Regions from separate parts of the Homo sapiens genome. Here region 2 is linked to region 1. The links are contacts of gene promoters, found by promoter capture Hi-C in blood cells and fetal thymus (Javierre and others, 2016). All regions are on one chromosome and are shown on one strand. The core of a region is centred on a gene start or on the middle of the fragment in contact, and the rest is flanking DNA. Distances in the headings are between cores, read along the strand shown. Region 1 holds the start of TSPAN18 (tetraspanin 18). Region 2 overlaps LOC105376652 (a long non-coding RNA gene).

What was found. The method cuts DNA at HindIII sites, captures the fragments that hold promoters and counts their contacts. A CHiCAGO score of 5 or more calls a contact.
Region 2: a fragment that was not itself captured here is called in contact with the fragment with the promoter of TSPAN18 in region 1 in 1 of 17 cell types (total CD8 T cells); the score reaches 5.4 in total CD8 T cells.

Annotation. Positions count from the first base shown.
Region 1 is chr11:44,724,359-44,731,496 of GRCh38, forward strand. TSPAN18 (tetraspanin 18) reads left to right here and starts at 2,604. Exons shown (of 10, transcript NM_130783.5): 1 at 2,604-2,929. The region is part of intron 2 of TSPAN18-AS1 (TSPAN18 antisense RNA 1); the gene reads right to left. RefSeq lists enhancers at 1,132-1,992, 1,993-2,854, 2,221-2,390, 4,106-4,608, 4,609-5,109 and silencers at 2,581-2,730, 3,567-3,736. The HindIII fragment of the contact is 6,014 bases long and covers 1,754-7,138 here.
Region 2 is chr11:45,118,105-45,125,242 of GRCh38, forward strand. The region is part of intron 3 of LOC105376652 (a long non-coding RNA gene); the gene reads right to left. It also overlaps a transcript of PRDM11 not described here. Among named protein-coding and RNA genes, the nearest start is that of PRDM11, 25 kb to the right of the region's middle. The HindIII fragment of the contact is 566 bases long and covers 3,322-3,887 here.

The DNA of each region.
Region 1 (7,138 bases), core at 1,354-3,853:
CATAGAATTATGTTTCCCAATTGAGAGGACATTCGAGATGTTCAAGGAAATTAAGGTCATTGGAGGTAATCCAAGGGCCTCCAATACCCTAATTGACCTGGTGAGGAGTGGGAGTGGAGGGGGTCCCTTCCCAATTCTCTTTTCATCAATGCTCTTGATGAAGAGTTTGTTGCTAATGTGTCTTTAACACCTTTCTAGCCTTTGGTAACCTTCCTTTCAAAGAGAAAGTGGGACCTCAGCTTCAACACCTCCTCAGGCAGCAGTATCTTGTTAGACTGTATTATTATTATTGTGGTTAAAGATACATTGTTAGAATTTAATAACACTTATTTTCATTGTATTTATTTTGATGGTTACCTTCTATTTATAGTAATGTGATGCTGGCTTTCCATTTATGGTAATAATTTAACATATCTTTTTAAAAACAAGCTCACTTAAGTAAATTAAAAAAGAATGAAAAAATAAGAGTTGATTTAGAGAAGCCTATTCAGCAGATGTCCTTAGCTAATGCACAGATAGGGCCAGGTCCTCCATGGAGGCTGGAGAGAGGCTGAGGTCCAGGAAACTGACTTGGAACTGGAGTCAGGGACCGAGCTGGTTGTCTAAGTTGTGCAGCGGGTCTGCACTCTCTTCCCCTGCGCCTGCCCCGTTCTGCCAAGCCCCAGACCCTTAGAGACTCTATCCCTCTCTCTGCCTGTCTCTGGTCTCCACTTCCCCAGCTCCAGCACCCTTGCTGTGGGCTTCCCGTTTTTCCTCTTTAAATGTATGTGGCGCCTGGTGTCCAAGGAGGCTCACACGGGGCCTCTCCCAGCAGCATTCCACAAGTGCAGGGCCTGTGGGGTGTTCAGCCTCCACCCTCCATTCTGTTTTGGCAGCTGAAGGGTGAATGTGGAGCCCTTCTCCTTGTCCTCCTCTTATAGAAATTCCACCATTAGGGACTTCCTCCCCTTGGGTGAAGCTTTGCTCACTCTGGGTCCCTTTGAAACCGCGGATCCAGGGATTTTTCTTCCAGCCACGTGCCTACTCTAAGAGTCCCGGTGACGCGGTGAAGTTCTTTAAAGGACCAGACATCCCTGAAGTCCTTACAGGGACATCCCCTTACAGGGACGAATCCATTTCCTGGAATGTGGGCAAGGAAAGGCAGCCACTTCCTGCCTCTCAAAACTCTGGCTGGTGGCTGGGTGCAGTGGCTACGTCTGTCATCTCAGCACTTTGGGAGACTGAGGTGGGAGGATCACTTGAGGCCAGGAATTGGAGACCAGCCTGGGCAACATGGTAAGAGTCCAGCTCTACAAAACACACACGCACACACACACACACACACACACACACACACACACACACACCAAAAACAACAGAAAACATTAGCCAGGCATGATGGCACATGCCTCTGGTCCCAGCTACTCGAGGGGGCTGAGTTGGAAGGATTGGATTGCTTGAGCCCAGGAGGTCGAGCCTACAGTAAGCCGTGCAGGAGGTCGGGCTACAGTGAGCTGTGCTTGTTGACCAGGCTTGTCCAGCCTGGTCAGCAGAGCGAGACCTTGTCTCAAAAACAAAACAAAAACAAAACAAGAAGATCCCCCTCCCCCCAAACTCTGCCCAGTGGCCTGACTACCAACATCCATATACAAGACAGGAGTAGGGTCAACTCCTTCCTATCAGTCACCCCTTAGTGAGAATCAGCTGGCCAAGGGGCCTCCTGCAGAGCTGATGTGTGCTTGAATGCCTAGGGCCCACGGGGATGGGGTGTGGAAGCTTCAAGCTGGGACTCAAAACAGAGTTGCCAAGGGAAGAGGAGTGGGCGACCCGAGCCCCTGTCATCAGTACTTTCACTTGGGCTGTCAGTTTTGATCTGCTTGCTTGTCCGTTTTGTCTGGGGCAGGGTCGGGTAGTTGTTTAGAGGAGGCTCAGAGGTTAAAAGTCTCAGGCAAGTCATGTCAGGGGTTGGGAGCCAGTGCTGCTGTGGCAGCAGTACAGAGAAGAAAAGATAAGCTCCCCAGCCCCGCAAGAACCTCAGCCCTGAGGCCGGAGACACAGATCTGGCCCCTTGCAATCAAGTCATTTGCATCTGACCTGGGGTCAGGCCCCTCCATGCAGGAAGTCCCCTTTCTTATCTGCAAGTCAGAGGAGGGTGAGTTCCCCAGGCTTTCAACAGGTACTTCCCCCGGCAGCGGGAAGCCCAGGAGCCCGATCAGGACCGAGGATCTCACCCCAACCCCTGCGTTTGGGCCCCGGGGTCAGCTGAAAGTTCCCCTGGAATAAACACTTCGGGTCCAGCATGCCCCTCTCCCCACTCCCGCAACGATCTTCCGAATTCAGACGCAGAGAGGGCCCGCGAGCAGAGCGGGAGGTGGTCGGAGGCGGAGGAAGGGGAGATGGGCAGAGGGTGGGCCCAGGGACCCCCAGACAAGGCCTGGACGCGGGGTTGGAGGAGGAGGCGGAGGCTGGCGGGAGGCGAGGGGCAGCCCGCAGAGGAGACGCGCTTCTCGGCAGCAACGGCGTCTGGAGCCGGGAGGGGCGGAGGTTTGGGGAGGGGGAGGGAGGGCGGGGGAGGGGAGGGACGGACGGCGGCGGAGGTGGGGCCGGCGGGCTGGCGGGCGTGCAGCTGCCGCCGGCGTCGCGGGGCTCCAGGCTGCGGGGCGGACGTAGCGCCGAGCGATCCACCGCGGAGCCGCGCGAGGCCGCCCGAGCCCCAGCCCCGGCCCCGGCCCCAGCCCCGGCCCCGGCCCCGGCCCCGGCCCCGGCCCCGGTCCCGGCCCCGAGCCCCGAGCGAGCGCCGCCGCCTCGCGCTGCGGGTCCCCGGACGCGCCGCCACCGCCGGGAAGGCAGCCGGCGCCGGGCAAGTTGCGAGCGCGCCCCTCCGACCAGGAAAGTTTCCCCCCGGCCGCCGGCGGGATTTGGCGCGGGGTCCGGCAGCCGCCGCTGGAAGGTATGGGGCTCCGCACCTCCGTGCCCTCCGCACGCCGCCGCCGCGCCCCCGGGGACCTGGGGACCCCCCCGCGCGCCGCCCCGGGGGTGCTGCTGGACGCGGCGGGGAATTGGGGTGGAGTAGGGATCCCAGGACGGAAGCCCGGCAACCAAGTTCCACTCAAACTAGCACGCGGGGGCTGGGGGGCCGGGGACGGTCTCCACCCCGTGCCTGCCCGGAGTCCGCTGAGGGCCGGGGGCTGCGCCCAGGACAGGTGCAGAGCCGGTGGGCTCCCAGTGCTCCGGGTGGAGGAGTGGGGGCTTCTGGAGAACGGCGCGGGGTGGCAGGTGTGGTTACAAGGTTCGGGGTTTCGGCCAGGGCTGCGCCCGGAAAGGGGCTGCTCGCCACGCCACCCGGTAAGACAGTGAGGGACCAGGGACTGGGAGCGGCGATCGGGGCCGGGAGGGCTGTGGGGCCCGGCAGCTGCATGGAGGGCGGGCTGCCTTTGGGGTCCCTGGCAGCGGGGCGGGGCGGGGCGGAGGCGCCACTCGTTCCTCCAGGACCCCCCTTATTCCTTAGGTGTGTGCGGTTTGGGGAAGTGGAGACTCCATGGAGTGCTGGGTGGGTGGGAGGCTCGGGCACGTCCAGATTTAGGGGGCAGTGGGAGCCAGTTGGGACGGTGCTCGGCTCGGGTGGGATCGCGCCGGCTCCGGGTCCTGCTGGAGTGAGGTGACTGGGCTCCCGCCAGGGGGCGCACTGCCCCGGCCCTCGCCAGCAGGAAGCGCGTTCTGGCTCCTGCGAGGCAACCGCGCCGACATCCAGGACGCAGGGACCACAGACACCCAACTTACGCGGGGTCCCGCCCCGAGGAGCCCGCCCTACACTAGCCAGACGGGGGAGCGGGACCAAGAGTGAGGCGAAAGGTTCACAGTTATAACTGCGCCGTGGGCTGGAAAGGCTAGGAGTCAGGATGTGATTTTTCTCGGGAAGGCTGCCAGGGCAAATGGATGAGTAAGAAATTTACCCCCAGAAAAAGATGTAAGAAACTACAACTGCGAATTGGTGCAGAGAGAGTGGGTTGGGGAATTAACTTTTTGACGGTTTTTGGAGTTGCAGAAACCCAAACCCCAAAATGCATGCACCCTTTTTGTAAAAGTTGCACCTTTGTTTCCTGGATCTGGTCGAATCCCTGTCTGGTGAAGGCAGGATGGGGGTCTTGGGGTATCCTCTCTCTGGGCACAAGTAAACTGGGAGGCACAGGGCGGGCGGTGGGGGATGGGGCCTTAAAGACTTCAGCAGTCCAGGCAGAAGTGTTAAATTTCTCAGCAGTCAACGAGCCCTGGCCCCCACCCTCATCCCCTGGGTCTGTGGTCTCTAGGCCACATTCTTCTGGTCATTTCACAATTATTGGTGGAAATCTGCCCTGGGTCCCAGTTGTCTGGCCTCAGGGTCCCTGTATGTTGAGTCTGTGTGTCTGTGCCTTGGGAAGTCGACGGCTGCTGGCATCTGTGAGGACTGTCATCTTTGTCATGTGCGGGGCTAACATTGAAGGGACATTGGAGGGACTATTGCCTCATCTTTCTCTCCAGTTCCCTCCCTCCTCCCATCACCCCAAGTGAGTGCAAAGGAGCAAATCATAGATTGTGCCGTGGCCTCATTGTGGTTGGTAGAAGTTTTCATCTTTCTCTTAGCTGGTAACCTGTGCTCCTTGGGCAGCCCCCCTCCTGCTCCCATGTCCTTAATGTCCCTTACAAAGGTGGGGGAAATGGGGGTCCCTGAAAGAGATGAGGTTCCTCTGTTCAATGTAGTCTGCCACATGTTTTTGTTGGATGCTACTGAAATGCTCCAGGACAAAGTTGCCATAAAGACAGATCAGCATGATTTTTATTTTGAATAGAAGAGGAGGAGGAGAGAGGAGAGAAAGGAAAGGGTGGAGAAGCCTGCTGTGTCTGGATAGGTCTTTAAGACATTCCAGGGGGCTGGAAAACAAAAGAAGTTTTTTTTTGTTGTGTTTTGCTTTTAGTGACTCTTGTTTTTCTGTGGAGGGAAGCCTGCATGGACCAGCCCTGCCTTGGAACCTGCCTGGGAGCATGGGGCCCCTAGAAGGCCAGCGTTTCCCGTGTTCTGTCCCTCCCCTCTTCTCCCTACCCCCACCCCACTTTTCCTGAATTGGAGAGGGAGTTGAAGGTCCCCAAGGGCTACTAAAGTCTGTGTTTGGGCTTAAAGTATCTTGTGTGGGCTCAGTCTTCTCCCAGGCAAACTCCAAGATCTCTGATTTAGCAACATTTCAAGTCTTGGGCACTCTGTTTCCTTGTCTCCCTTGTCCCCAAACCCATTCAAACAGCCAGTATATGTGGTGCTTTTACCCAACCCCAGTCTGAAATGGTAGCACATCATTGAAAGCTCCAGGACACTTTCTAGAAGCCGAAGTTAGTTGGGTTTAGGATACCTTGGGGTTGGGTTTAGGACACCTTGGGCTGAGTCCAGGAAGGAACCCTCTGCCCTTTAAAAAATGAGATTTTAATGGTCTGAGGGGTGTGTTGGAGGGCAGGGTGCTGGGTAGGGACACAGGATTAATTCAAGGATGTGTGGGAGGGGGTGCCAGGAAGAGGGAAAATAGCAGATTTGAAATCTAGCTCTTCTGAGTCATCCGTGTGGCCTTGGGCAGGTTATTTCCCCTCTTGAGCCTGCTTCCTCCGTCTGTAAAATGAATATGTTGGCTGAGGAGATTCTGAGCTATCTTGCAACTTAGAGCAGGAGAGTCTAACCTTTTAGGGGGCTGGGCAGCCCTGCTCCATTCCTTCTGCCTTCCATTCAGTGGAAGGTGCCTCTCCGGGCTGGCTTGCCTCTCTCTGCCCGCCTGTACACAGCAAAATCCTGCGTTGAGTGAATGCAGCAGCTTCAGAAACCAGCTCCTGCCATCAGAGCTGAAGGACAAAGTGCCCAGCAGTTTTGGGTAGAGAGGGGAATGTCTGTAACCAGTCCCTGCTGGGAGCCCCATGTTAGTCTGCAGGCTCGCTCCCCACTCTTCTTGGGAAGAGCCCTTTCAGTTCCTGGGGTGCAGGTTTTAGGGACCTCTCCCTTTCCAGAGGGCTGCTTTTCTGGTCTATTTCATCAGCCATTGAGAGGGAAAATCAGGAACATTTGTTCATGCTCAGCTGGGGTGCAGCACAGGGAGGGGGCCTTGGAAACCAGCACTCTGGTCCCACTGAGCAGATGACGCCCATTGATCAGGCGTTTCTACCACCTGATGCCATTGAGCAAATGTACCAGCTTGGGCTCCTCCTGCCACCCGGGCTGGCACCTTGGACCTGCATTAGTGCTCCATCTGAGGGAGTGGGGGTGGATCATGAAACACTTTTTTTTTTTTTTTTTGAGAGACAGTCTTGCTCTGTCGCCCAGGCTGGAGTGCAGTGGTGCGATCTTGGCTCACTGCAACCTCTGCCTCCCGAGTTCAAGCGATTCTCCTGCCTCAGCCTCCCAAGTAGCTGGGATTACAGGTGTGTGCCACCACACCTGGCTAATTTTTTTTGAATTTTTAGTAGAGACGGGTTTCACCATGTTGGTCAGGCTGGTCGCAAACTCCTGACCTCGTGATTCACCTGCCTCGGCCTCCCAAAGTGCTGAGATTACAGGCGTGAGCCACTGCACTTGGCTTTTGAAACACTTTTTATAAAGAATGGGAGAGTAAGATGGTGAGCCTGTGTTTGCAGCTGGCAGGGCTGGTCTTTCATCTGGGTACTTGTTGTCTTAAGATTCAGCTCTTGCCCCTGGTCTGCACCCAAGACTGCTGGCTTAATTAGTGAATTCAACAACTTGGAGATGAGCAAAAACATGTTCACTGGTGGTGGGCAAGTGTGTACAAAAGGCAACAGGATGGAGCAGAAAGGTAGCTGAACTAGGCATTAGGAGACTGGTGTTCCAGCCCTGATACTGTTACAGATGGAGCGATGTGGCCTTGTGTGAGTCACAGCCTCTCTCTGAGCCTCGGTTTCTCTATTTCTTTAGAGGCAGCAGTGCGTGGTGGTTAAACTGCCTGGATTTGCCTGTTAGCTTTATCATAACTTCATATCAATTGTGTGACCTTAGACCATTCAACCCCTGGTGCCTCCATTTCCTGATTTGTAAAATGGAACTAGTAATACCCCATCAGATTGTTGTGGATAGTCTTTGAGATAAAACTAGTAAAACATTTAGCATAATGCCTGGCATATAGTAAGTGCTCAATAA
Region 2 (7,138 bases), core at 2,355-4,854, 390 kb after region 1:
GATCATGAAAAAAAGAGAAGGAAAAGAAGTCTTTGAAATTGCCATAACCAAGAGGATCTTAAAGAGACTTGACAGTTAAATGCAATGTGGTATCCTGGATAAAATCCTAGAAAAGGAGAAAAACAACAAAACAAAAAACCAGGTGAAACCTAAAGAAATATGAATGAACTATGGACTTTAGTTAATCATAATGTATCAAAATATTGTTTGATTAACTGTAACAAATATAGTTATGTAGGATAATAGTTAGGAGAAATTGGTTAGGGGTGCATAGGAACTCTGTACTGTTTTCCCAATTTTTCTGTAAATCTAAAACTTCAAAAAATAAAATCTACCAAAAATAAAAAATATTAGCAAATTAAATTCATCAACACATAAAAATGATGACACATCATGACTAAGTGAGTTTCCTCCCGGGAATGCAAGTTTGTTTTAACATTCCAAAACCAATTCACCTGTTAATGGAATAAAGAGGAAATATCATACAATTATCTCAACAGATGCAGAGAAAAAGGATTTGACAGAATTTAACACTCATTTGTGATAAAAGCATTCAGCAAATTAGCAGTAGATGGGAACTTCCTCCATATGATAAATGAAATCTATGGAGATATAATAAAATACTGTAACTCATTTCATATTGGGTTAAGTATGAATGACAAAATGTTTTTCCTCCAAAATCAGCAATAAGACATGAATACTCACTCTTGTTATTTCTACTCAGCATAGCACTGATAGTTCTAGCTAGGGCAATTAGGAAAGAAGAAAAAATGCATGAAATTGAAAAGGAAGGAAAAGAGCTGTCAGAGTTTGTATGGGGTTGAAATAGTCCGTTTTGGGCATGGACTGGCAGTCTGCCTTGGCCCAGTCAGAGAAACTCCACTGAGGGAGAGAAAAATTATAATCCCTTTTGGTGGTTGCTGGGTCAGCTGCAATGATTTATAACCTAAAAGAGGTCCAAACACAAGACCATATTCTTCCACAGAAGTTTTCTGTGTTCTGGAGCTACAGCAAGCTGAGGCTCTGATCTATAATGACAAAGGAGAAACTCTTGCATAGGTGGTTAGGAGACCAAATCACACTAGACCAGGGACCTACTTGCAAGAATCACAAACTAGTTTCCTTCCTGAAACATCTGTCAGATTTTGAACTTGTGAGAGTAGGCAAATGAAAGAGGGAAGCTCAAAACATTCCAAGGTCAGACGGAACTTTCAGATTCTCAATGAAAAACCTGGTAAGGCGGCCGGGCGCGGTGGCTCACGCCTGTAATCCCAGCACTTTGGGAGGCCGAGTTGGGCGGATCACGAGGTCAGGAGATCGAGACCATTCTGGCTAACACGGTGAAACCCTGTCTCTACTATAAAAAATACAAAAAATTAGCCAGGCGAGGTGGAGGGCGCCTGTAGTCCCAGCTACGCGGGAGGCTGAGGCAGGAGAATTGCGTGAACCCCAGTGGGTGGAGCCTGCAGTGAGTGCCACTGCACTCCAACCTGGGTGACAGCGAGATTCTGTCTCAAAAAAAAAAAAAAAAAAAAAAAAAAAAAACACCTGGTAAGGCCATACCAGGAAGAATAGGCAGGTACCAGTGGCGGACTGAGTCTTACTAATACTGTAATGCAGCCACAAGATTATCAGTCCCTTACCCCATTTTCTTAACAGAATAAAAGACTAAACCCTAATTACTGAAAGATATTATCTATAGCCTCTATGGTCCTTCTATGAGCAGCATCTGGCAGTGACAGTGACAGTGACAAAGTAGGAGATGAGCAAGGAAGGGGGAAAATGTGAACAAAAAATAGCAGAGCCACTGCTGACCCAGTTACTGGAGTTAGCAGTAAGGACATAAAAACAGCCATGATCAGCATGTGAAAATAAATACAGGAAAAGATGCGCAAGATGGATTAAAAAGTGGAGAATTAAAATAGTTAGAATATCTCTTAAAAATCCAATGGCCATTCTAGAATTGAAAATATATCAGAATTTTAAGAATTTGTTGAATGTATTTAACAGGAGACTGAACACAGTGTATGACTGGATAGTGAACTGGAACTCAATAGAAATTATCCACACTGAAGCACACAGAAATAAAGCTGGGAGGGAGAGGGAACAGAACAGAGCATAAAGGCATGTGAGGTACTAACAAAAGTTCTAACATACACATATGTGGAGTATCAGAAAGAAAGGAGAGAGGAATGAGGCATAACCAGTATTTGAATAAATCATGCCTGAGAATTTTCCAAATACCACAGATTTAGTTTTATAAAGCAAGGCAAAACCCAAGCAGGATAGATACAATGTAAAACCACATGCAGGCTCATAATAAACTGCTGAAAGACAAAGACAAAGACAAACAGTAAAAAGCTGCTAGAGGAAAAAAGGAACCATTACCTTAAAAGAAGTAACAGTAAAACTGACCACTGGTCTTCACTAGAATCTATGGAAGCTAGAAAAAGAATATTGCCAACTTAGAATTCTATATCCACTAAAATGTCCTTTAAAATTAAAGGTGAAATATATTTTCATTAAAAAAAAAACCACATACAGAATCATCACCAGCAGACCAGTATCACAATAAATCAAAAGAGAGTCTGTCCTTCATGGTGAAGGAAAATGAGCCCAGAGAGAACAGACCACAGGAAGGAGTGAATAGTACCCAAGACAATAAGTATGTAGGTAAACATAAAACAATATTGATTACTTAAACCAGCAATAATGACAATGTATCTTCAGCTCATAATATATGTATGAGTACCAATATATGACAATAATAGCACAAAGGGCAAGAGCAGATAAAGTTGAGTTAAACTGTTGTAAGGTTCTTGCATTGAAGGTTCTTGCATTGTTCAAGAAGAAGTAACAGTGCAACCTTAAGGTAGACTGTAATAATTCAGGGATGCAGTTTAGATCCACTGAAAGAAAAAAAGAACATATAACCACGAAGCTAACAGAAGTGACAAAAATAGTCGATAAGTCAAGAAAGGCAGGAAAGGAGGAATTAAAAAACGAAGAATAGATGGTTCAAATAAAAATCAAATCACACGATGGTAGTTTGATACTACCAACTATATCAGCAATTACATTAATTATAAATGGATAAATAGTATAATATGAAATAATTGTCAGATTGAACTAAAAAAACAAGATGCAAATATTAGTTGTTTATAAGAGATACACACAATATAGGAGGACACAAGTTGAAAGGAAAAGAATGAAAAGATATTGCTGGAAACCATTAACAAAAAGCTGGTGTGGTTATATTACTATCTGATAAAGTAGACTTAAAGAAGTAACTTCCCCATATTAGTATGCTCCTCATTTCAAAGCTTCAAATATGCAAAGCAAAAGTAACAGAATTTTTAAAAAAGAAATGGGCAAATTCAAAATCAGAGTTACAGATTTAACACACTTCTCTCAGAAAATGCTAAAACAAGCAAGCAAACAAAAAACAGTGAAATACTGAATATTTAAACAACACAATTAAGCAATTTTATCTGGTTAATGTATATACAACATTATATTGAATAACTGCAGAATGAATATTATTTTGAAGTGCTTGTGGAACATTTACCACAATAGACTACACAATGGGTCATAAAGCAATTAACACAAATTTCAAAGAACTGAAATTATACAGAATATGCTCTCTAACTGGAGTGGAGTTAATTAGAAATCTATATAAAAAGGCAACTAGAAAATCTCTAAATGCTTGAAAATTAAGCAACACACTGCTAAATAGTCCATGGGCCAAAGGAAACATTACAACAGCAAATATTTAGAGTGGGATAATGAAAATTGTGAGCTGCATCTAAAGGCTGTGGTTACAGAAACATTTATAGCCTTAAATGCAATTCTTAGAGAAAAAGATATACGGAAAATTAATGAATCTAAGCTTCCCTCTCAGGAAGATAGATAAACAACAGCAAATTAAACCTCAAGAAAGTGGAAGGAAAGAAATAGTAAAGATGAAAGCAGAAATCAAATAGGAAAAAAAATACACAGTGGAGAAAATGAGCAAAGATAAAAGTTAGGCCTTTAAATAAGTAAATAAAATGTATAAACCCCTACTAAGAAGAGAGACACAGACAGACACACACACAGACACACACACACACACACACACACACACACACACAGAGAGAAACAGAATATCAGCTAAGAAAGTGGGTTATCAGTACAGGTTCTAGAGACATTTAAAAGATATCATGGTATTTTTTTTATTATTATTATACTTTAAGTCTTAGGGTACATGTGCACAATGTGAAGGTTTGTTACACATGTATACCATGTATACATGTATACATGGTATACATATGCCATGTTGGTGTACTGCACCCATTAACTCGTCATTTAGCATTAGGTATATCTCCTAATGCTATCCCTCCCCCCTCCCTCCACCCCACAACAGTCCCTGGAGTGTGATGTTCCCCTTCCTGTGTCCATGTGTTCTCATTGTTCAATTCCCACCTATGAGTGAGAACATGCAGTGTTTGGTTTTTTTGTCCTTGTGATAGTTTGCTGAGAATGATGACTTCCAGTTTCATCCATGTCCCTACAAAGGACATGAACTCCTCATTTTTTATGGCTGCATAGTATTCCATGGTGTATATGTGCCACATTTTCTTAATCCAGTCTATCGTTGTTGGACATTTGGGTTGGTTCCAAGTCTTTGCTATTGTGAATAGTGCCACAGTAAACATACATGTGCATGTGTCTTTATAGCAGCATGATTTATAGTCCTTTGGGTACATACCCAGTAATGGGATGGCTGGGTCAAATGGTATTTCTAGTTCTAGATCCCTGAGGAATCGCCACACTGACTTTCACAATGGTTGAACTAGTTTACTAGTCCCACCAACAGTGTAAAAGTGTTCCTATTTCTCCACTTCCTCTCCAGCACCTGTTGTTTCCTGACTTTTTAATGATCGCCATTCTAACTGGTGTGAGATGGTATCTCATTGTGGTTTTGATTTGCATTTCTCTGATGGCCAGTGATGATGAGCATTTTTTCATGTGTTTTTTGGCTGCATACATGTCTTCTTTTGAGAAGTGTCTGTTCATATCCTCCCCCCACTTTTTGATAGGGTTGTTTGTCTTTTTCTTGTAAATTTGTTTGAGTTCATTGTAGATTCTGGATATTAGCCCTTTGTCAGATGAGTAGATTGCAAAAATTTTCTCCCATTTTGTAGGTTGCCTGTTCACTGTGATGGTGGTTTCTTCTGCTGTGCAGAAGCTCTTTAGTTTAGTTAGATCCCATTTGTCAATTTTGGCTTTTGTTGCCATTGCTTTTGGTGTTTTAGACATGAAGTCCTTGCCCATGCCTATGTCCTGAATGGTATTGCCTAGGTTTTCTTCTAGGGTTTTTTATGGTTTTAGGTCTAACATGTAAGTCTTTAATCCATCTTGAATTAATTTTTGTATAAGGTGTAAGAAAGGGATCCAGTTTCAGCTTTCTACATATGGCTAGCCAGTTTTCCCAGCATCATTTATTAAATAGGGAATCCTTTCCCCATTGCTTGTTTTTGTCAGGTTTGTCAAAGATCAGATAGTTGTAGATATGCAGCATTATTTCTGAGGGCTCTGTTCTGTTCCATTGATCTATATCTCTGTTTTGGTACCAGTACCATGCTGTTTTGGTTACTGTAGCCTTGTAGTATAGTTTGAAGTCAGGTAGCGTGATGCCTCCGGCTTTGTTCTTTTGGCTTAGGATTGACTTGGCGATGCAGGCTCTTTTTTGGTTCCATATGAATTTTAAAGTAATTTTTTCCAATTCTGTGAAGAAAGTCATTGGTAGCTTGATGGGGATGGCATTGAATCTATAAATTACCTTGGGCAGTATGGCCATTTTCACGATATTGATTCTTCCTACCCATGAGCATGGAATGTTCTTCCATTTGTTTGTATCCTCTTTTATTTCATTGAGCAGTGGTTTGTAGTTCTCCTTGAAGAGGTCCTTCACATCCCTTGTAAGTTGGATTCCTAGGTATTTTATTCTCTTTGAAGCAATTGTGAATGGGAGTTCACTCATGATTTGGCTCTCTGTTTGTCTGTTATTGGTGTATAAGAATGCTTGTGATTTTTGTACATTGATTTTGTATCCTGAGACTTTGCTGAAGTTGCTTATCAGCTTGAGATTTTGGGCTGAGACAATGGGGTTTTCTAGATTTACAATCATGTCATCTTCAAACAGGGACAATTTGACTTCCTCTTTTCCTAATTGAATACCCTTTATTTCCTTCTCCTGCCTAATTGACCTGGCCAGAACTTCCAACACTATGTTGAATAGGAGTGGTGAGAGAGGGCATCCCTGTCTTGTGCCAGTTTTCAAAGGGAATGCTTCCAGTTTTTGCCCATTCAGTATGATATTGGCTGTGGGTTTGTCACAGATAGCTCTCATTATTTTGAGATACGTCCCATCAATACCTAATTGAGAGTTTTTAGCACGAAGGGTTGTTGAATTTTGTCAAAGGCCTTTTCTGCATCTATTGAGATAATCATGTGGTTTTTGTCTTTAGTTCTGTTTATATGCTGGATTACATTTATTGATTTGCATATGTTGAACCAGCCTTGCATCCCAGGGATGAAGCCCACTTGATCATGGTGGATAAGCTTTTTGATGTGCTGCTGGATTCAGTTTGCCAGTATTTTATTGAGGATTTTTGCATCAATGTTCATCAAGGATATTGGTCTAACATTCTCTGTTTTGGTTATGTCTCTGCCAGGCTTTGGTATCAGGATGATGCTGGCCTCATAAAATGAGTTAGGGAGGATTCCTTCTTTTTCTATTGATTGGAATAGTTTCAGAAGGAATGGTACCAGCTCCTCCTTGTACCTCTGGTAGAATTTGGCTGTGAATCCATCTGGTCCTGGACTTTTTTTGGTTGGTAAGCTATTGATTATTGCCACAATTTCAGAGCCTGTTATTGGTCTATTCAGAGATTCAACTTCTTCCTGGTTTAGTCTTGGGATGGTGTATGTGTTGAGGAATTTATCCATTTCTTCTAGATTTTCTAGTTTATTTGCATAGAGGTGTTTGTAGTATTCTCTGATGGTAGTTTGTATTTCTGTGGGATCGGTGGTGATATCCCCTTTATCATTTTTTATTGCATCTATTTGATTCTTCTCTCTTTTCTTCTTTATT